2 separate regions of the Homo sapiens genome follow, and region 1 is linked to region 2. Evidence: promoter capture Hi-C in 16 types of primary human blood cells and fetal thymus (Javierre and others, 2016). All regions are on one chromosome and are shown on one strand. The core of a region is centred on a gene start or on the middle of the fragment in contact, and the rest is flanking DNA. Distances in the headings are between cores, read along the strand shown. Region 1 holds the start of VWA5B2 (von Willebrand factor A domain containing 5B2). Region 2 holds the start of EIF2B5 (eukaryotic translation initiation factor 2B subunit epsilon).

Region 1 (5,986 bases), core at 2,276-4,775, 94 kb after region 2:
CCCCCCACACCAACTGGCTGGGCATGGTGGCTCACACCTGTAACCCCAGTACTTTGGGAAGCCAAGGAGGAAGGATCCTTTGAGCTCAAGAGTTCAAGACTGCAGTGAGCTATGATTGTGCCACTCCACTCCAGCCTGGGTGACAGAGTGAGACCCTGTCTCTGAAAAAAAAAAAAAAAAGAAAAGAAAAGACAAACCGAAGTGTTTAGGGGTAAAGAGGTCGGATGTGTAAAACTTAATTTGAAATGGTTCAGAAAAAAATGCTTTATTTGCAACTTTTGTAGAAGTTTTGAAGTTATTTTGAAATACAAAATTTAAAAATTAATTGTTTAATTGACGTCTTTCGTGAGGGGAGGGGCTACCACTGTCTTGTTTTCTGCTGTAGTTCCAGCTCTAGCACACCGCAGGCTTCAACAAGAAATATTTCTTGAGTGAACAAATGAATTAATGAACTAAACCATCTTCCAATTTGGGTTTCAGGCAGGGGCTGGGATTTTGGAAGTCAAGCTTTAGACAGCAAGAGGCAAAATTCCTCTTTTTCTCTAGGTATATCTCTTCTGGAGCTCCAATCTGAGAGGGTAGATCATCTATAGTTTGGGGAAATAAGACCTCTGCCCTCCAAAGGCCGACAGGCAGCCCACAAGCAGGAGATAATTGAGTTGTGCTTTGCAACAAGAAGACCTGGCTGAGTGCCATTTTCTAAGTCAGTTCCCTAAGGTTCACCCTATTCCCCACATCACCACCACCCTTGGTTAAGATTTGTTTTTTAATTTTTAATTGTTATGGAGATAGGGTCTCCCTATGTTGTCCAGGCTGGTCTCAAACTCCTGGCCTCAAGGGATTCTCCTGCCTTAGGCTCCTGAAGTGCTGGCATTACAGGTGTGAGCCACCGCCAGCCAGTTAAAAGCTTTTATAATATCCATTACTATTACTCTTGTAATGCAGCACTTATCTCAAGCTACTGTAACTGTATATTTGTCTGCCCTTTTCACTAAAGTGTGAGACTCTCCTAGGCAGAAGCTAAGTCTTTTCAGCTCAATATCCTCCTATGGGCCAGGCGCAGTGGCTCATGCCTATAATCCTAGCACTTTGGGAGGCTGAGGCAGGCAGATTGCCTGAGCTCAGGAGTTCAAGACCAGCCTGGACAACATGGTGAAACCCTGTCTCTACTAAAAATCCAAAAAATTACCCAGGCATGCTGGTGCTCGCCTGTAATCCCAGCTTCTCAGGAGGCTGAGGCAGGAGAATCACTTGAACCTGGGAGGCAGATGTTGCATGCAGTGAGCCGAGATCGCTCCACTACACTCCAGCCTGGACGACAGGGCGAAACTCTGTCTCAAAAAATATATCTATATATCTATATCTATATGTATATCATCTATATCATCTATTCTCCTATGACTACCACGTAGCCCACCCCATGCTATCCCTCAGCCCGGCCTCAGATCTGGAATCTGGTTCCTGTGCTGTCCCCTTCTGCCCTTGGCTGTCATGCTGCTGCCTCACCACCAGAGGGCCTTCCAGCTGGGCCTCAGAGACCCTTCTTACTGCCCCACCCAAGGTGCCAGGCAGCCAGCACTGGCTCCCCACCCCCTGCCCCTCATCCTGCAGGGTGCCCTATGCTTTTTGTGGAGCCATTCACCTGTCTCTCCCTCCATTTGCCTCAGCTAAGGAGACCTTCCTAGCAAGATCTCAGGGTTGGTCCAGCTTTGCAGCAAAGTTTGACTTCTGCCAGTGTGTGTGTCTGGTCTCTGATAGGGATGCTATCTTCCTGGGAGGCTGTCTTACATCTAAGCTCTCCTCAGGACCAAACAGAAGGACCTCTTTTTCCATTTCCATGTGTCGGAGACCTCCCTAATGACTGCTATTTGCAACCTCATGTTTGTCCAAGGGCTACATGTAGCTCTTGGTTCATTTGTAGAAGGGGCAGAGCACAAGGTGCTTGTGGAAAGGTGGCCACTGCCTGGACCTTTGTGAGGCCCTCAGGGCCAGGGCTGGTCCTACCTGAGGCCCTGGATCACCTGGAGGGACCATCAGCCCATCCACTGTTTCTCCCTAGGCCTGAAAGAGGGACCCTCGTTCAGGATGAAGCTGAGAACAGACTCAGTAGAGAAAGGGGGAGAGAGGTGAATGGAACCATGACCCAGGTAGTATGGAAAGAGGGCTAGGACCCAGCTGGAGCTCCCTGTGTGTTGGGTACGTGTGACTGTGTCTGTGCTCCCTGTATCATTCCTGTGCATTTCCACCCATGAAATTCCCTGGGAAAAGGTCAAGCTCTCTCCACCATGCTAAGTAGGGTGAGCAAAGGAGATGGTTGGGGTTGAGGGCTCAGATACTCAAGGAGGCAGGGATCCCCCGGGGGGATGATCCCTGGTGATAGTGATTGAAATCAGAAGGAGAGAGTTAATGCGGAGGAGTGAGAACCATGGGCCCGACTCGAAAGCTCACTTCCTACTGGCTGTCCTCCATCCCCAGCTCTCCTCAAGCTCTCTCTGCAGAATCTCAGTATGGCATCTGCCAAAAAGCTTACATGGATGATCCCCAAACATGGTCATCTCCTCTCACTTCCCCAGGGCTCTCAGACTCTTCCTTGGGGGACCTGGGAGAGGTTTTCCGGACCTTCCTACTTTTTGACAGCATAACACTGTCAAGCACATGCAAAGTCTGCCAATAACAAGGGGCCCTCCTGACAAGCAGAGATGTTTTCTCTTCAGGGCTGCGGTGATGGGTGGGGGTCACTGCTATGAGGGGACGGTCTGCAGCCATAAGAAGGCTCTTCAGGCTAGAAGGCTTCACTCCCAAGGCCCGCACAGCTGAAGAGACCAAGGGGTTATAGGCTGAGGGCGCTATTGTGCACACCCTCCCACCCCAGCAGAAGTGGTTGGCACTGCAGCGATGCCAAGGCCGGCTGCTTGGGGGTGGGAGGAGGTCGCTGCAGTGATGAGGAATCCCTGCTTGGAGTGAGTGGTCACTGAAGTGGCTGCATGAACTAAAAGTACCTGCAGGGATGGGGGAGGTTTTCTGCAGTGATGAAGAGCACTTTGCAAAGGAAAGGGGCCAGCTTCTTGGGGGAAGAGTCCTGCGGTGACGGTGATGGGGGGCTGGGGGGTTCGCTGCAGTCAGGAGGGAGGGTCTCTGCAGCGATGGGAAGCAACCCAGGGCAGGGGGTGGGGTGGGCTGGGGAATGGGATGCCGTCGTGGTAATGGGATAGCTGGGGTCGCGGCAGTGTCGGTGGCACTTGCAGGACGCCTGATTCCTGAAGAATGGAAAGGGTGGGGTCTCTGAGGCCTCGGTCCTGCAGTGACGGGGATCCGTGCGGCGGCGGGGACGCGGTCCCTGCACTGCGGTGCCCAGTCTGGCTCGGGCTGCCGCGGCTGGCGCGGAGGCGGTACCGCGCCCGAAGGAGGGGGGAGCGCCAGCCCCGCCGCAGCAGCAGCAGGCGTGGCCAGGGCAGGCTGGAGGGGCGGCCTCTCGGAACGGGGGCGGGACCACCGCCGGCAGGGCCCGCGCCCCTGCCGGGACTCAGAGCCGCTGCAGCCACAGTCACGAACTGGCGGCCGGCAGGTGCCGGGACCGAGGGCCACCCGGAGCGCAGAGGCGGCACCACCCACACGGATCCCGTGGGCACCTAGAACTCCGCGGAGGGCGCGACGGTGAGGCTGAGACTGCCACAGGGAGCGGGGCGATCCCCAGAGCCAGCCCGCGGCATCCCCTGCGCGGGCCGCGGCCACTGCAGGTGCCCCCTCCTCCCACATCAGCTCTGCCGGGGTAGGGAGCGGTAACCTGGCGGCTCCCACGGACTCTCCCTGGCCCGACACCTCTCCCGGGCTTGCCTCCCAAAGACCCCCTCTTTTCGCTTTCCCAGCTCGTTCTTCCCACCCTTAACCCCTCCACTCCGGCCAGCACCCCCGTCGGATGAGGCACCAGGGAGAGAAAGACCAAGGCCCTTTCGGCGCCCCATCCACCCTGCCCCCGCGATCCCTCGCAGGGCCGGGGGCCTCCGGGGGGATTCGGGCCCTTTAAACCTCCGCCTTCCCGGAGCATCTTCCATCTCCACCCGCGCCGCTTCCGACAGCTGGCGGCCGCGGGGGGCCCCGGGGGGCCGGCAGGTACGGGGGTGGCTGCGAGGTTGGGAGTGGGCGGTGGAACAGCTGTGACCGCCCCCACCCCCGGGGGAGCCGCGGCGGGACTGCTGGGCGCCGAAGCGCGCGTTAATCATTAACCCTCCGCGGCCCGGCTGCCCAGGTAACGCGTGAGGATGCCCTCCTCGCCACCACGCCTGCCGCCCCCTTATCTCCCCCGCCACCTGTCGCCCTCAGGAGCTCCCGCTCGGCCTCGCGCCCCGGCAGGCCCCGTCCGGGTGCTGGAGTGAGACTCTCGCGCTGGCCTCTGGAGCGCGGGGTGGGCGTCCCGTCACCCTGCGCCCAGCTTCCCCGGCCCGTTCCCGCAGGGCCGGCCTCCCGGCGCCATGCCCGGCCTGTACTGCCCCTCCAGCTGGACGCCGCTGCCGCTCACGGACTCCTGGGTCCGGGCCTGCGCCAACGGCCCCTGCCTCAGCGTGCGGGCCCGGCTCACCTACCGCAACCCGCAGCCGCAGCCGGTGGACGGTGAGGCCCGGGTGGGGCGCGGGCGCGGCGGGGGGTGCGCCGGGCAGGGTCCGACGCCGCCTCCCGCCGCCCTCCCCAGGCGTGTTCGTGTACCCGCTGGCCGAGGCCGAGGTGGTGTCCGGCTTCGAGGCCGAGGCCGCCGGACGGCGCGTCTCCTTCCAGCTGCAGAGCCGGCGCCGCTCGCAGGCCGCCTGCTGCCGCGCTCTGGGCCCGGGGCTGGGGACCCCGACGCCCCGCCGCTGCGCGCAGGGTGAGTTCCGCGCGCCCGCACCCGCGCTCCTGAAAGCCGGGCGCAGCTCAGGCTCCCGCATCCGCTCGGCCTCCGCCCGTCCCCCGCCTTCCTCCGGGCACTGCCTTGTGCATTCATTGGCTCATCCTGGTATTTAGCAGTCGTGGGCTGGGCACCTGACCTGCGCCAGGTGCTGGGAGAACATGGCCCGGAGGTTCACAGCCTGGGAGACAGACACAGCAGGCAGCACAGGGCTTGCGGGGGCGCCAGCAACCCTTACAGCCCAGGAGACCGGTCTCTCTAGGGGGCTGCAAAGGGAGCCTTCTCCCCTGGTGGTCCCCTCCGGCCCCTTACTATTTTAGGCTGCACACCTCAATCCGGCCCCGCGTGGGCCAGTGAATCAAGTGTAGACTCCTGTGCCTAGCAGCCAAGGCCCTCGCTCTCACCCCATTCCATCCCTCTCCCAGCGACCCCATACACCAGGTACCGCTGCCGCTGGCCACACTGACTGACAGGTCCTTTCCCAACTCTCTGCTCTGTCTTTCCATCTTCTATTGAGCAAATTCCTACTTGTCCTTTAAGATCCACTAAACGTCATTCCTAGGGAAACCCTCCCTGACTCTCCCACAAATAGCTGCACTGTTTCCTGGCTCCCCAGCCTTTTGTGCCCCCTCGTTATGGCACTTACAGGGGGAGTCATTGTCACAGATCTGCCTGTCTGTCTCCCCGCTGGAGCATCTCCAAATCCCAGCACCTCACACAGAACCTGGCACTATGAGGCCCAGCGAGTGCCCGGGGAAGGGACAGAAGCCCAGCCCTGTGCTGTGTGCTGTGCTTGCACCTGGTTCTTTCATTGATTCATTCATACATGGCTTTGATTCCTGCCCAGGGGATTTGCAATCCAGGTAAGAAGAAGAGGAACAGAATCCAGTGGTGTTGAGAGCTGGCATAAGCCCAGCACGTTAGGGGCTTGTGGTTAGAGGCTAGAGTGAGCTCTGGGCTGAGGCCCCAGGAATGTTCCAGAAGGAGGTAGAGCCAGCATTTGACTGCAAGAAAGGGTAGGACTCAGTTAAGTGGAAGGTAGGGGCAACAGTATAAGCAAATGCTTATAAGTAGGTTACAGTGGGTAATGACAATAAAATATCTCAT
Region 2 (3,549 bases), core at 299-2,798:
CACTTCCCAACTTCCCAAGGTTGCGGGAATCATTTAAAATAAATTCTGCAATCGGACCTACTTTCCATACCCAAACACCCCCCCAAGAGTGTGTGTGTGTGTGTGTTTGTGTGTGTGTGTGTGTGTCCTATTTAATTCCTTCTCCCCTCCCCCATTTCTACCTCTGGATTTGTAGGGCAGTTGAACATTCCTTTTCTACAACGTGCATTCATTTAATGGAAAACTTTTACTTAGTTGGCTTCAGCCTTTCCTTTTCTAGGATAAATCAAATGGTTTTCGTTCCGCACCCTAACGAGGCAAGAAATGACAAACTCCTCGGTCCCCCTAGGCGGGCGCCGGAGCACGACGGGTCAAGTCGGAATCGCCACGTGGAAACAGCTCTCAGCATCGCGAACTCCAAATCCCGACGTGCAACGCGGGGCGGGATGGGAACAGTTTGCAGGAACTGCAGAAGCCTGTGGCGTGGAACCTGGACAGGTCCCGTGCAGAAAGGGCGCTATGCCTTACAGAAAAGTTCCTTGCCTCCCAAATGACGCCCAGCCTTCCTGCCCCGTTCCACCGCTTTCCCACGGCCCCGCCCCTCTACAGAGTTGGTTTATTCCCCGCAGCCACCGCTTCTTTCCCCAAAGAGAAAAAGGTGCTGCTGCGCCTTTTCAAGCCTTGGACCTTTACGCCCGCACTTTCCTCTGCCCAGAAAGCTTACTGCTTAACTCCAGTACAACTTACTGGTGCGCCTGGATCCACCCCCGTCTCCACTCTGCTTAAGACACAGGAGGCTGATAGGCTGGAAGAATGAATAGATGACATAAAATAGTCATTGTTATCCCCACATAACTTGGCAGCAAGATTGTGGAACTCTGCAGTCAGACAGATCGGGTTCCAATACCAGTTCTTCCACTTACTAGCTGGGTAAACTTCCTTCATCCTTCTGAGAGTTCAAGAAACGTTTGCTGAACGAATGAATAAGATGTTTTGCAGAGATAATGCTTGTATCGTGCCTGGCCCAAAATCAGCGCTCAATGGAATTACTGGTCTCCCTACTATATGCCTGCCACCTTCTCTATTTATGCAGGTTCTGAGTTCCTCGCAGCGGGGGAACATCTGGCTCGGTTCTATCTCCCCAAGGCGCTGGGTTCCCAGAAGTTTCTAGAATGAATACGGAGGGCTACATATTTCACATGCGCGGGGCGGGGAAACTGCTGGGCGATTACAGATTCCCGATGGAGCTGGCCCCTTCGTGGCGACCACAAGTCCTATCACGCCACAAGAATCTCGGCTTGTTCACCTACAAATGAAGGCCGACGATACTTGCAGACCGAGTCTGACATCTATGGGACCCCACTCCTACCCTGCGCCTCAGGGGCCGGGACAACCGTGACCCGTACCGACTCCTCGCGCCTCCGGGATCAACCTCAGACCCCTGTGGGCTCCCGGGGAAGACGCATGCGCACTGCTCCCTCCTCGTCTCCTTCCCTTCGTTAATTAGTCCATCGCATTTCAAGTGCTGGATCCTTTTTGTCCCCTACTGCGTGCGGTGGCAGCTTCCTTGCGGAAGTGGTGACCGTGAGAGAAGAAGATGGCGGCCCCTGTAGTGGCGCCGCCTGGTGTGGTGGTTAGTCGGGCTAACAAGCGCAGCGGCGCGGGGCCGGGAGGCAGCGGTGGCGGGGGAGCCAGAGGGGCGGAGGAGGAACCGCCGCCGCCCCTACAAGCAGTTCTGGTGGCCGATAGCTTCGATCGCCGCTTCTTCCCCATCTCCAAGGACCAGCCTCGGGTGAGCGCCGCGCACGCGAGCAGCCAGAGGGCAGGAAGGGTGGCAGGGCTGGAGCAAGTTCTCATTTCGGCTAACTACAACAGCATGCCCTTGAAGGACCTGCGTCTATGCTGTTATCCTAAAACCGGATGCAGAGGGACTGTCTAAACCCTGATGACTGCTGACCAAGTTAGTGGCCGGCAGATTTGGGCATTCGTAATGCTGTCCACCTCGGGTTTGAAAGGAATGAAGAGAGCTAAATGTAGAAACAGCGCTTGAGAGAAGCCTTCACGCGGGGATTCAGTGCCCCTAGAAGAGGCTGCGCCGCTTTTAACCTTGCCGATGACGGTTGCTTAGGTGAAAAGAAACGACCTTTTGCCTCTGAAAGGGCGGTAATATGCCTTAAAAAGAGCGGGCTAGATCTCAGGCAGTGTATTTTTTTTTTCCTTCCAGGTTCTAATGATAGCCGGTGCTATCTGTCGAAAGGACAAAATGGGTTTAGTGGTTGATTGCCATCAGCCCCCGAGTTGTCTAGACAATGGGGTATTGGACTCAGCTGGGTCGTTCAGCAGTCAGTTCAGAAAGAGGGAACTGCATTGGATTTAAGGAAAATCCTCTCTAATTCCCTCGAAAAAGCCTAATGGCTGTTCATTTTTGACAAGTGACGGGAGATGGCTAACCTCTGACACTTAGAAAGGGATCAAGGAAGGAAATCTTATGGGGAAGAAGGCCTTAGCAATGCTTAAATTTATGGAAATATGATTGATTTCCAGTATTATCCTTTGCCAGCAGTGAACTGCCATTCTGTCACAGCTCTGTGTCTGATACAAGGCACATAGATTCTGTACTTACCATCCCCAAATTGCAATGTCTCAGACTCAGGCTTAGAGCATGGCATGAACATCAAAGGCAGGAACCTGTTTATCTTTGAATTGGAAAGATACAGCAAAATTACACTGTTTGGAAATACGAATAGAGGAGTGAAAATTGTTGCAGTGGGGTACCCAAAGGGATTCGAGACCTCAAGTTTTTTTTCATCTTGTATCCTTCAGGTCCTCTTGCCCCTGGCCAATGTGGCATTAATTGACTACACTCTGGAATTCCTGACTGCCACAGGTGTACAGGAAACATTTGTCTTTTGTTGCTGGAAAGCTGCTCAAATCAAAGAACATTTACTGTAAGGCCCTGCAACTTTTCTTTCCATGTTTCGCCATCTTTTTCCAGTTTTTTCAGGATGAATGTAACTAAGGGGAAATGTGAGAGGGGAAAAATGTGTCTACTTAGATGTCATTGTAAGTTCTAAGGGTATTTTCTACACTTATCAGGAGGTGAGCAGCTGAAACTTTGTATCTGTCTGTCTTGGGTTTTCTGTGACAAAGATTAAAGAATAAACTTGGGTTTTTTCTGAATCTCATTATAAAGTTTGGTGCCAGTGGACTTTGCTTTTATTTAATGGCTTCAGTATGGAAGTTACAATGATAACATCTTTGTTTTCCCACTGAGTTTCTAAATCTTGTTTGTTCTCACCTTCAAGGATATAAATGAGCTCCTTGTCATCTTTGTATTCCCACTGCCTAGCTCAGTCCCAAGCATATAGTGAGCACTTACATGTTTGTTGAAATCTTGAAAACTAGGGAATCGCATTGCTTATGGAAGTCCAGGATGTAAAGACTAGGACATTAGCATGGTCTCCATCAGACAGTTCCTAAATGTTATATGGATTGCAGAAGGGGAAAGCTGACGTGAAGCGTGTTCCCAGGCTACTTTGTGTACCCTAGGCTTCAGCAGGATTTTGAGTT

The links. The method cuts DNA at HindIII sites, captures the fragments that hold promoters and counts their contacts. A CHiCAGO score of 5 or more calls a contact.
Region 1: the fragment with the promoter of VWA5B2 here is called in contact with the fragment with the promoter of EIF2B5 in region 2 in 1 of 17 cell types (endothelial precursors); the score reaches 5.5 in endothelial precursors.

What each region holds. Positions count from the first base shown.
Region 1 is chr3:184,226,060-184,232,045 of GRCh38, forward strand. It overlaps VWA5B2 (von Willebrand factor A domain containing 5B2), which reads left to right and starts at 3,526. Exons shown (of 20, transcript NM_001390846.1): 1 at 3,526-3,654; 2 at 4,321-4,608; 3 at 4,688-4,858. The coding sequence starts at 4,470. RefSeq lists a silencer at 3,294-3,633. The HindIII fragment of the contact is 8,832 bases long and covers 2,524-5,986 here.
Region 2 is chr3:184,133,810-184,137,358 of GRCh38, forward strand. EIF2B5 (eukaryotic translation initiation factor 2B subunit epsilon) reads left to right here and starts at 1,549. Exons shown (of 16, transcript NM_003907.3): 1 at 1,549-1,771; 2 at 2,803-2,927. The coding sequence starts at 1,577. EIF2B5-DT (EIF2B5 divergent transcript) reads right to left here and starts at 1,452. Exons shown (of 2, transcript NR_183721.1): 1 at 727-1,452; 2 at 1-469. RefSeq lists enhancers at 1-579, 1,449-1,508, 1,829-1,898 and a silencer at 1,649-1,758. The HindIII fragment of the contact is 10,653 bases long and covers 697-3,549 here.